3 separate regions of the Homo sapiens genome follow, and all the other regions are linked to region 1. Evidence: promoter capture Hi-C in human tissues and cell types (Jung and others, 2019). All regions are on one chromosome and are shown on one strand. Each heading gives the region's core, a stretch centred on a gene start or on the middle of the fragment in contact. The rest is flanking DNA. Distances are from core to core; before and after follow the strand shown.

Evidence for each region. The method cuts DNA at HindIII sites, captures the fragments that hold promoters and counts their contacts. A contact is called where the count stands out against the background at its distance.
Region 2: the fragment with the promoter of ZNF771 here is called in contact with the fragment with the promoter of TUFM in region 1 in 1 of the 25 tissues and cell types used here (aorta).
Region 3: a contact is called between a fragment that was not itself captured here and the fragment with the promoter of TUFM in region 1, in 1 of the 25 tissues and cell types used here (lymphoblastoid cells).

The regions. Positions count from the first base shown.
Region 1 is chr16:28,845,079-28,848,495 of GRCh38, reverse strand. TUFM (Tu translation elongation factor, mitochondrial) reads left to right here and starts at 2,148. Exons shown (of 10, transcript NM_003321.5): 1 at 2,148-2,278; 2 at 2,390-2,584; 3 at 3,016-3,182. The coding sequence starts at 2,227. It also overlaps a transcript of SH2B1 not described here. RefSeq lists an enhancer at 1,797-2,286. The HindIII fragment of the contact is 27,203 bases long and covers 1-3,417 here.
Region 2 is chr16:30,405,672-30,409,088 of GRCh38, reverse strand. It overlaps ZNF771 (zinc finger protein 771), which reads right to left and starts at 1,483. Exons shown (of 3, transcript NM_001142305.2): 1 at 1,425-1,483; 2 at 895-1,044. The coding sequence starts at 1,035. RefSeq lists silencers at 1,348-1,557, 1,580-1,759. The HindIII fragment of the contact is 10,608 bases long and covers 1-2,949 here.
Region 3 is chr16:29,876,257-29,879,673 of GRCh38, reverse strand. SEZ6L2 (seizure related 6 homolog like 2) reads left to right here. Exons shown (of 18, transcript NM_001243332.2): 10 at 1,249-1,387; 11 at 2,207-2,403; 12 at 2,724-2,918. Among named protein-coding and RNA genes, the nearest start is that of CDIPT, 15 kb to the right of the region's middle. RefSeq lists enhancers at 987-1,486, 1,487-1,988. The HindIII fragment of the contact is 6,800 bases long and covers 1-3,417 here.

The DNA of each region.
Region 1 (3,417 bases), core at 899-3,398:
AGTTCAGAGTTTCCTAAACTCCTCTGAGTTTTCATTTGAAAAAAAATTTTTTTTTTTGGAGACGGAGTCTCGCTGTGTCGCCCAGGGTGGAGTGCAGTGGCACCATCTCAGCTCACTGCAAGCTCCGCCTCCCGGGTGCAAACAATTATCCTGCCTCAGCCTCCTGAGTAGCTGGTACTACAGGTGCACACTGCCACGCCCAGCTAATTTTTTGTATTTTAGTAGAGACAGAGTTTCACCGTGTTGCCCAGGCTGTTCTCGAACTCCTGAACTCAAGCAATCCACCCGCCCGGCCTCCCAAAGTGCTAGGATTACAGGTGTGAGCCACCACGCCTGGCCAAAATATTTTTATAGAGATGGGGTCTTTCTTGGCTGAGCGTGGTAGCTCACGCCTGTAGTCCCAGCACTTTGGGAGGCCACAATGGGCGGATCACTTGAGGTCTGGAGTTCGAGAGCCGTCTGGCCAACGAGGTGAAACCCCATCTGTACTAAAAATACTAAAATTAGCCAGGCGTGGTGGCACATGCCTGTAGTCCCAGCTACTCAGGAGGCTGAGGTGGGAGAATTGCTTCAACCCAGGAGGTGGAGGTTGCAGTGAGCCGAGATCGCCCCATTGCACTCCAGCCTGGGCGACAGAGTGAGACTCTGTCTCCAAAAAAAAAAAAAAAAAAAAAAAAAAGATGGGGTCTTTCTCTGTCACTCACGGTGGGGTGCAGTGTCATGATCATACCTCACCACAGCCTTGAACTCCTGAGCTCAGGCGATCCTCCTGCCTCGGCCTCCTGAGTAGGAGGGGCTATAGCTGCATGCTACTGTGCCTGGCTAATTTTAAATTTTTTTTTGTAGAGATAGGGTCTCCTAATCTGCCCAGGCTGGTCTTGAACTCCTGGCTTCAAACCGTCCTCCCACCTCAGCCTCCCAAACTGCTGGGACTATAGGCTGGCACTATAGCCACCGTGCCCAGCCTCTTCTCAGTTTTAGAAGAGTGTTTGTTATATAGCTTCCCAGTCTGTGCATAGACCCCACGGAATCATAACCTCCAGGGGAGGAATTAGGGAATCTATTTGAAACAAACACTGTCCACTGAGTCTCAGGATCTGATGAGTTCCGAAACATTAGCCAGGGTTAAGCAGCCATAATTAACACTTTGGAGTGCCCTGTGGAAGCTGCCATGAGATGATGGATGTGAAAGTTAAGGGACATTGACTACCCTTGCACCCATTCATTCAACATTCACTGCATGCTCCACCCTGTTAGGTGCTGGGGACACCGACAGATTAAAGGAGACTCAGGCTCCCCTTAAAGGCTCCCCTAGCTGGCTCCTCATCCTTGGCTCCTCATCTGCAAAATTAGATGGGTGGGGCGATGCCCAACGGAACTGCTCCTTAGGCTGCTGAGGGACTACAGGGGTGGGCAGCGAAGCTGTCTGTCTTGTGGGCTCTGGCCCTGTGAGGTCTAGCAGTACAGGGTCCCCGCAAGCTGCCTGACCTCACAGGGCCCAACACTGACTCCTACCCAGTTCATCTCCTCTCAGGGCTAGATGTCAGGCTCTCCCTATGAAGTGGATACTACTATTCCCATTTTACAGATTAGAAAACAAAGTCTCAGCGAAGAGGGAGGTCACACTTCACCCCATCCCCGAAAGGCGTCCAGGACCTGGTCCCCTACCTCCAGCTGCGGCAGAGGCGGCCAGATATCTCGCAAGACCCGCGTAGCGAGTCGGACTCCGGGGGACTCGGGGTCTCTCTCTGCCGGGCCCAGGAGGAGGTTCCTGAGCAGTCGGAGCCGCAGCTGCCTCCCGGAGCCCGAGCCCCTCCCTCCGGGTCCGGCCTAGCCCGCCTGACTCCCACTCTGATCACCTCCACAGCCCGCCGACCTGAGAACTACTACGCCCATGAGCCTTCGCGGCGCCGGTGATTTAGGGGACGCTCCTCAGTGCCCCCTGCGACCGCCAGAGAGAACTACGTTGCCCCTCAGCCCGAGAGGCGCGAGTGGTGGAAAACCTCTCCATCATACTCCGCCCTCGAGACACCAGCCCCCTCCATGACGTCTTCAGCCGCGCGCCCGACGTCGGCTGAGACGGCCATAGACACTGGCGGCTAGAGGGGCCCGGACTTGCCCTCCCAGCTCTAACTTCCGCCGGAAGTGCCTTCCAGCCGCAGGCGCCCTTCTTCTTCTGTGCGCTCGGGCTCCTGGTCCCGGCTCCCCGGTTACCGGGGCGCGAGTATGACCACAATGGCGGCCGCCACCCTGCTGCGCGCGACGCCCCACTTCAGCGGTGAGTGGTCAGGGAGGGCGATGGCGGCCCAGGAACACTTTGGGGGAGTGGTAGGTGGCTGGGTTCGGTCTGACCCCTTCCCTGCCTGACTCCAAGCTTCGGTCCCGGCAGGTCTCGCCGCCGGCCGGACCTTCCTGCTGCAGGGTCTGTTGCGGCTGCTGAAAGCCCCGGCATTGCCTCTCTTGTGCCGCGGCCTGGCCGTGGAGGCCAAGAAGACTTACGTGCGCGACAAGCCACATGTGAATGTGGGTACCATCGGCCATGTGGACCACGGGAAGACCACGCTGACTGCAGCCATCACGAAGAGTGAGTGGGGTTGGGGCGTCCAGCAGCGCCCTATCTACTGATGGGACCTGGAGCCAGGGAGGCAAGGCCAGCAGAGTGTCTGCTGGAGGAGTTTACTGTGGCCCCAAGAGCCCGAATTTGTGCGACAGGTGGATTGGGAGATGCAAGAGACAAATTTCTCCTGAACAGGAAGAACTTTGTGATCCACCAATGGCTTGGGGATCACAAAGTCGTGGGGAATGCTCTGCAAGCAGAGGCTGTACCCTAAAGAAGTCACAGGGCAGACCCTTAAGGCCCTCTAACATTTCTTTCTGACCCACAGTTCTCTCTGCTGGAAGAGTTAGAGATTGGAGGAGGTTATGTATTTAGGTGGGAGGGTTCAGGGGCGTGGTCTAAGCTCTGCCTCTAGCACTGGAACTTTAGCTGAGAGGTGTGTTCTTTTCCTCCTTTAGTTCTAGCTGAGGGAGGTGGGGCTAAGTTCAAGAAGTACGAGGAGATTGACAATGCCCCGGAGGAGCGAGCTCGGGGTATCACCATCAATGCGGCTCATGTGGAGTATAGCACTGCCGCCCGCCACTACGCCCACACAGACTGCCCGGGTCATGCAGATTATGTTAAGGTGAGGGTTGCTGGGACACTGGAGACAGGGCCAGAAGCTGCCTCTTGTCAGGATAAATGTTAGGCTTGTGGGGAGGAGATTAAGATATTCAGTGTTTGGGTATGAGATGGCAGGTTTGTGGTCTTGGCCACGCAGAATGGGTGGTGAGGAGATGGTAGAGAAAGGTGGGCCTGAGTTTCTAACTGCTACACTTGGCTATATGGATGTGAACTGAAGAGCTCGTTGAACTTGGCTG
Region 2 (3,417 bases), core at 234-2,733, 1.6 Mb before region 1:
GTAGGAGAACCACTTGAACCCGGGAGGTGGAGGCTGCAGTGAGCCGAGATCACGCCACTGCACTCCAGCCTGGGCAACAGAGCGAAACTCTGTCTCAAAACAAAACAAAAAAAAATTAGCCAGGTGTAGTGGTGCATGCCTGTAGTCCCAGCTACTTGGGAGGCTGAGGTGGGAGGATCACCTGAGCCCAGGGAAGTCAAGGCTGCAGTGAGCTGTACTGCACTACAGCTTGGGTGACTGAATGAGACCCTGTCTCAAACAATAACAACAGTAATAATAAAAGAGCCATTTCCTCTGACTGGGTCCATCACCCCACTTCTGACCCCAGACTCCTACTAGTCTCACATAAGCCATCCTTTTACTTTGAGACCTGTGGCCAGTTACCAAACTGCCCTGGGCCTCAGTCTCCTCATCTGTAAAATGGAATAAATGCTACCGACATCATAGAATCGAGGTGCTTAGAACAGTGCCTGGCACATAGAAAATGCTAGGCAAGGGTTAGCTATTGTTACTGTTGCTGTTGAACTAACCTGACCTTTCCCCAACCTCTAAATCTGAGTTAAGTTCCCACTTCTAGGCTTCATCATCCCCCTGTACCTGCAGCCATCACACGGGATTCTAACTGTGTGGTTACCCTTCAGTCTAACATCAAGCTCCATGGGGGATCCAAGGACGGAGTTTAATCTCCTGCACCCAGCAGGAAGCCTGGGACAGTAGGCGTGACTTTTGTATGATGGAAGCCCAGGCAGTAGGGCAGAAGGATGGGCCAATCCTGAGGTTTTAGATCCGAGATTCTGGGAAAAGTAGGGGCAAGATCCCTGGCTTCTATCTGAGGGAGGCTGGGCCTGGACCAGGTTTGGGGACAGTGTGCCCCAGGGTGTGTGTGACACATACCTCCTTGTTGTCCATGGGGATCTTGAGTTTCACCACCTCATACTTCTCCTCACCCTCATCCTCCTCACCCTTCACCAGCAGCACCATCTCCTCCTGCATCTCTTCCTCCTCCTCTTCCTCTGCCTGCTGTTCGCCAGGCATCTTGGTGTCCTGAGGCGGGGAGCTGGATCAGAAGCTCAGGACCCGCCCCCCCCCACCCCCCCCCCCGCCCACCGTGGCCCTGGCCCAGCAAGGCAGTGCAGCCGTGGCTTCTCCCGCCCTGCCCTGGTCTCCGAATCTGGTCCTCTCCCGTCCACCCCAGCCCGGCCCCACGCTCTGGCACAGCCCCGGGACCAGCTCCGAGGGCTCGCGTTCACCCCACTCATCCCAGCATTCAAGGCCTTGAACAGTTCGAATCTCCAGCCCCCGCAAGTCGCCACCATCCTTGCGCTGAGTCACTCCCCAGGGCCCGGGTCGGCGACCTGGAGCTCTGGGGCACGGGCTGGAGGCGGGATCGGGGCGGAAACCCCGGGGAGGGGGTGCGCACTCACCAGCCGAAGGTTCGGCACTCGCGGTGCCCCAGGCCTGGGCGCCGGGCGGCTGGGCACTCAGCGAGGCCGCGGCTCCGGGGGCGGGGAGGGGGCGGGACCGCAGGGACGGCCGGTCATTGGTCCGAACATATAGCCCCACCCCCTGGGGCGGAGCCCGAAGGACCCAGGCGTCCGGCCCAAACGGCTCGGAGAGGGCGGCGAGCTCAGACTTGGCGTCCTCCGCAGTCCCCCGACTCCCAAGCACCTGGAGCCGCCCCAGCCCGGCGTTCAAGGTCCTTGCCGCCGAGTTCCAACCTAACCTCGCGGCCCGTCTCCTGGGGCCGGCTTGGAGGTCTCCGCTGCGCCCAGTGCCTCTGCTCCGCCCGAAATAGGCCACGTGCGCTCCCGCCCCGGCCTGGGCCTCTCCCTGGCGCCCCGCCTGGAGGGCGGACCCTGTTGCCTCCTCACTTCTTCCATTCCCTCTTTATCTCCTCTGCCGTCTTTTCTCCATCTTTCTCGGCTTCGCCTATTCCGCTGGCCTCTGGGATATCCTTGAATACATCCTAACCAATTCAACATCCACCCAAGCTACCGCTGTCGCGTCATGCGTGGGGTGCTTACCATGCGCCAGCGCTGTTCAGCGTCTTACATACCTGGTCTCATTTGATCCGCATAACGATGGGTCCTGATCCATTTTACAGATGAGCTCACTGAAGTTCAGGGAGGTAAACTGATTTGCCTAAGTTACACGATAAGGATGTCATAGCATCCCTGACAATCAGTAGCCTAGGTGAACAACAGCCCAAAGCTAAATCCAGTCCACAGGGGTACCTTGTTTGGCCCTTAGGGTATTTTTACTTTTAAAAAATCTTTTCGGACGGGCACGGCGGCTCACGCCTGTAATCCCAGCACTTTAGGAGGCCGAGGCGGGCGGATCACGAGGTCAGGAGATAGAGACCATCCTGGCTAACACGGTGAAACCCCGACTCTACTAAACAAAATACAAAAAATTAGCTGGGCGTGGTGGCGGGCACCTGTAGTGCCAGCTACTCGGGAGGCTGAGACAGGAGAATGGCGTGAACCCGGGAGGCGAGCTTGCAGTTAGCCGAGATCGCGCCACTGCGCTCCAGCCTGGGCGACAGAGCGAGACTCCGTCTCAAAAAAAAAAAAAAAAAAAAAAAAAAAAAATCGTTTCAAAGCCGGGCGCGGTGGCTCATGCCTGTAATCCCAGCACTTTGGGAGGCGGAGGCCGGTGGATCACTTGAGGTCAGGATTTCGAGACCAGCCTAACCAACATGGTGAAACCCCGTCTCTACTAAAAATACAAAAATTAGCCAAGCTTGGTGGTGCATGCCTGTAATCCCAGCTACTCGAGAGGCTGAGGCACGAGAATTGCTTGAACTGGGGAGGCAGTGGTTGCAGTGAGCCGAGATCATGCCATTGGTCTCCAGCCTAGGCAACAAGAGCGAAACTCCGTCTCAAGAAAAAAAAAATTAAATTGGGATATTTCATATAAAAATAGATTTTTTTTTAGTGGAATAAACAAATGCCACTTCCTTTGAAAAACAGCCACTTCCCTTGAAAAAGCAGATATCTAATTTTCCCATTTTATGAATGGGGCAACTAAGATTCAGAAATCATGAAGGAAAACAGAAATAACATTCAGTAAGTGCTTACAAGTTCTATGTTGTCTCTTTACAACAGCCCTGTTGGGATCAATAATATCTCCATTGGACAAAAGAAGAAACGGAAGCTTAGACAAGTTAAGTAATTTGCTCAAAGTCACACAGCTGGCAAGCAGCAGATTCAAAGCTTGTGCTCTTCTATTGCACCAAATTACCTCTCAGGAATGAAGTTATAAAACTGGCTCTTTCCCAGAGCTGGGAGAAGGGGTCAAATGCCTGGATACTCACACACAGGATCCCCAAAAGCCACTTTGCATTCATTCTCTGAGTTTTTTTTTTTTTTTTTTTTTTTTTTTGAGATGGAGTCTTGCTCTGTCGCCCAGGTTGGA
Region 3 (3,417 bases), core at 281-2,780, 1.0 Mb before region 1:
GTCACAAACCCAAATGTCTTCAAGAGCGAGAACTGCTGTTGGGTTAAGTCACAGATTGGGCAGGCTGGAGAGTGGGCAGGGTTTGTTAAGAGCAGGACTGGATATTGAACACAACAGGACCTAGATGCGGCAAGAAACAGGTAGATCATGGCTGGGCACGGTGGCTCACGCCTGTAATACCAGCACTATGGGAGGCTGAGGCGGGCGGATCACCTGAGGTCGGGAGTTCGAGACCAGCCTGATCAACATGGAGAAACCCTGTCTCTACTTAAAATACAAAATTAGCTGGGCATGGTGATGCATGCCTGTAATCCCAGCTACTCAGGAGGCTGAGGCAGGAGAATCGCTTGAACCCGGGAGGCGGAGGTTGCGGTGAGCCGAGATCGCAGCACTGCACTCCAGCCTGGGCAAGAAGTGTGAAACTCCGTCTCAAAAAAGAAAGAAAGAAAGAAAAAAGAAACAGGTGGATAAAGCCGGGAGCAGTGTCTCACGCCTGTAATCCCAACACTCTGGGAGGCTCAGGCAGGCGGATCACCTGAGGTCAGGAGTTGGAGACCAGCCTGGTCAATAGAGTGAAACCCCGTCTCTACTAAAAATACAAAAATTAGCCGGGCATGGTAGTGCGTGCCTGTAATCCCAGCTACTTGGGAGGCTGAGGCACGAGAATCGCTTGAGTCTGCGAGGTGGAGATTGCAGTGAGCCGGGATTGCGCCACTGCACTCCAGCCTGGGCGACAGAGTGAGACTCTGTCTAAAAAAATAAAAATAGGGGCTGGACCTGGTGGCTCACGCCTGTAATCCCAGCACTTTGGGAGGCCAAGGCGGGCAGATCACGAGGTCAGGAGATCGAGACCATTCTGGCTAACACCGTAAAACCCCGTCTCTACTAAAAATACAAAAAAAAAAAAAAAGAAAAAAGAAAAAAAAATAGGGTGTGGTGGCGGCGCCTGTAGTCCCAGCTACTCGGGAGGCTGAGGCAGGAGAATGGCGTGAACCAGGGAGGCAGAGCTTGCAGTGAACCAAGATCGCACCACTGCACTCCAGCCTGGGCGACAGAGAGACTCCGTCTCAAAAAAAATTTAAAAATAAATAAATAAATAAAATAAAAGAATAAAAGAAACAGGTGGATCATAGGTAATAGGAAACAAGCGAGGTGATGTGGTGCACGCATCACGAGTGGTGAGGACTGTGGAGAAATGAAGACAGCATGCCCACCTGGGTCCTGAACCTGACACCCCTTTTTCCCTAGCCATGTGTGGAGGGGAGCTGTCGGAACCAGCTGGCGTGGTCCTCTCTCCCGACTGGCCCCAGAGCTATAGCCCGGGCCAAGACTGCGTGTGGGGCGTGCACGTCCAGGAAGAGAAGCGCATCTTGCTCCAAGTTGAGATGTATGTTTGGGTCCTGCAGAGGGTGCGACGGGTGTAGGCTCAGCAAAGTGTGGTATGCCAATGCAGTAGCCTGCATTCTGAGCCTGTCTGGCTCTTGCGTATCTATCCAGAATTCGGTGGATAGGCTGGTGCACTAAGGGTACAGGATAGACGTGAGAGAGCTGGGCTCAAATCACATATTAGCCAGGCAACCTCGGACAAATAAATAGGGCAATGCAGCCTTCCTTAGGGGCCACTGTGAACAAGGGGCTCTGGCCTGGTGCCTCTCACTCTTTGGAGGTTTCTGAGGCTTCCCCTGGAGCTATTTCCACGGACACAGACCCAAACTGTTGCGTTAACACCAGCAAGTTGGGGAGGTCTGGGGAGAATCCAGTGAGCTGAATTGGTATGAGAGTGTCATGAGATGGCACAGAAGCTGAAGTGGGCGTGGCTTCAAAGCAGGTACTCAGGCGGGGCCTAGAGTTGTGTAGGGCGTTAGCGAATTTGGTCTGTGATTGGCCAGAGCTGGAGTTGGGCTAGGCTGTGGATCTCATGGTGATGGAGGAGGGAGTGGACAGTGGGCGGAGTTAGTAATGTGCAAGCTTAGGGATTGGGTAGTAGGACATGGGAGGAGCCATAGAATAGGGGAACCCTGAGGCACTAGCATAGGAGAAACCATGGTTGGTCAAAACGGAGGCGGCGCCAGACCTGGGATAGGAGAATATGGGCGGGGCTGGAGAGTAGGAGGGGCTACCAATGAGCAGAGTTGAGGATGGGGCAGAGCTGGATGGGAGGGGCCAGTCGCAGCCCCGCCCCATTGCCTGGTCTCACCCCCTGCAGATTGAATGTGCGGGAAGGGGACATGCTGACGCTGTTCGACGGGGACGGTCCCAGCGCCCGAGTCTTGGCCCAGCTGCGGGGACCTCAGCCGCGCCGCCGCCTTCTCTCCTCTGGGCCCGACCTCACACTGCAGTTTCAGGCACCGCCCGGGCCCCCAAATCCAGGCCTGGGCCAGGGCTTCGTATTGCACTTCAAAGGTACTGAGGGATAGAGTCCCGGGATGGGCAGGGGTCGGGCAGGCCAGAGATCCCGGGAGGTGGCCGGTCGTGGTGGCTCACGCCTGTTATCCCGGGGCCTTGGGAGGCCGAGGCGGGAGGATCGTTTGAAGCCAGGAGGTTGAGGCTGCAGTGAGCTATGCTTGTACCACTGTACTCCAGCCTGGGCGACAGGAAACCCTGTCTCTAAGAGAGAGAGAGAGAGACAGATCCCGGGAGGGGGCACAGAGCAAAGCCTCCGAGGCTGGAAGGGAGCCCGCAGTTAAAACGCAGCCTCCAAACTCGCCTTCCCTCCCCTGCAGAGGTCCCGAGGAACGACACGTGCCCCGAGCTGCCACCTCCGGAGTGGGGCTGGAGAACGGCATCCCACGGGGACCTGATCCGGGGCACGGTGCTCACCTACCAGTGCGAGCCTGGCTACGAGCTGCTAGGCTCCGACATTCTCACTTGCCAGTGGGACCTGTCTTGGAGCGCCGCGCCGCCCGCCTGCCAAAAGAGTGAGCCGGCCCCGCCCGCGTCCCCTCGGCCCCGCCCCTTCCCTGTGGGCCCCGTCGTCGGCCTGTCCTGTCCCGACCCCCGTGCTTTCTGGGTTCCATCCCTTCGCTCGGGGTCCTTCCTGGATCTTCTTCAAGGCCTGCCCCCATGCCCTTTAGTTCTCACTCCTCCGCCCGGTTCCCCGAAACTGTCCCCTCTGGGTCTCCCTCTCATCTTCTCCGGGCTGCATCCCTCTTTCTTGCACCGACCTGGGCTCGGTCCCTGTTTCCTCGTCTCACGGCCCCGCCCCGTCCCCTCCTGACCCCTCCTCTGCGGCATCTGAGTTTGGCCCCTAAAAGGGCTCCGACCAGGTTCCCACTGGGCTCCCCGGGTCCACACTTGGCTCCACCTTCCTGTCCTACGCCCCGCCCCAATCCCGCAGTCCTATCAGTTGAAATTGTAGGGAGCCACTTTGCTAGGACCAAGGCTTGTCAGAGCACTTGGTTTATTTGAATGCCATCA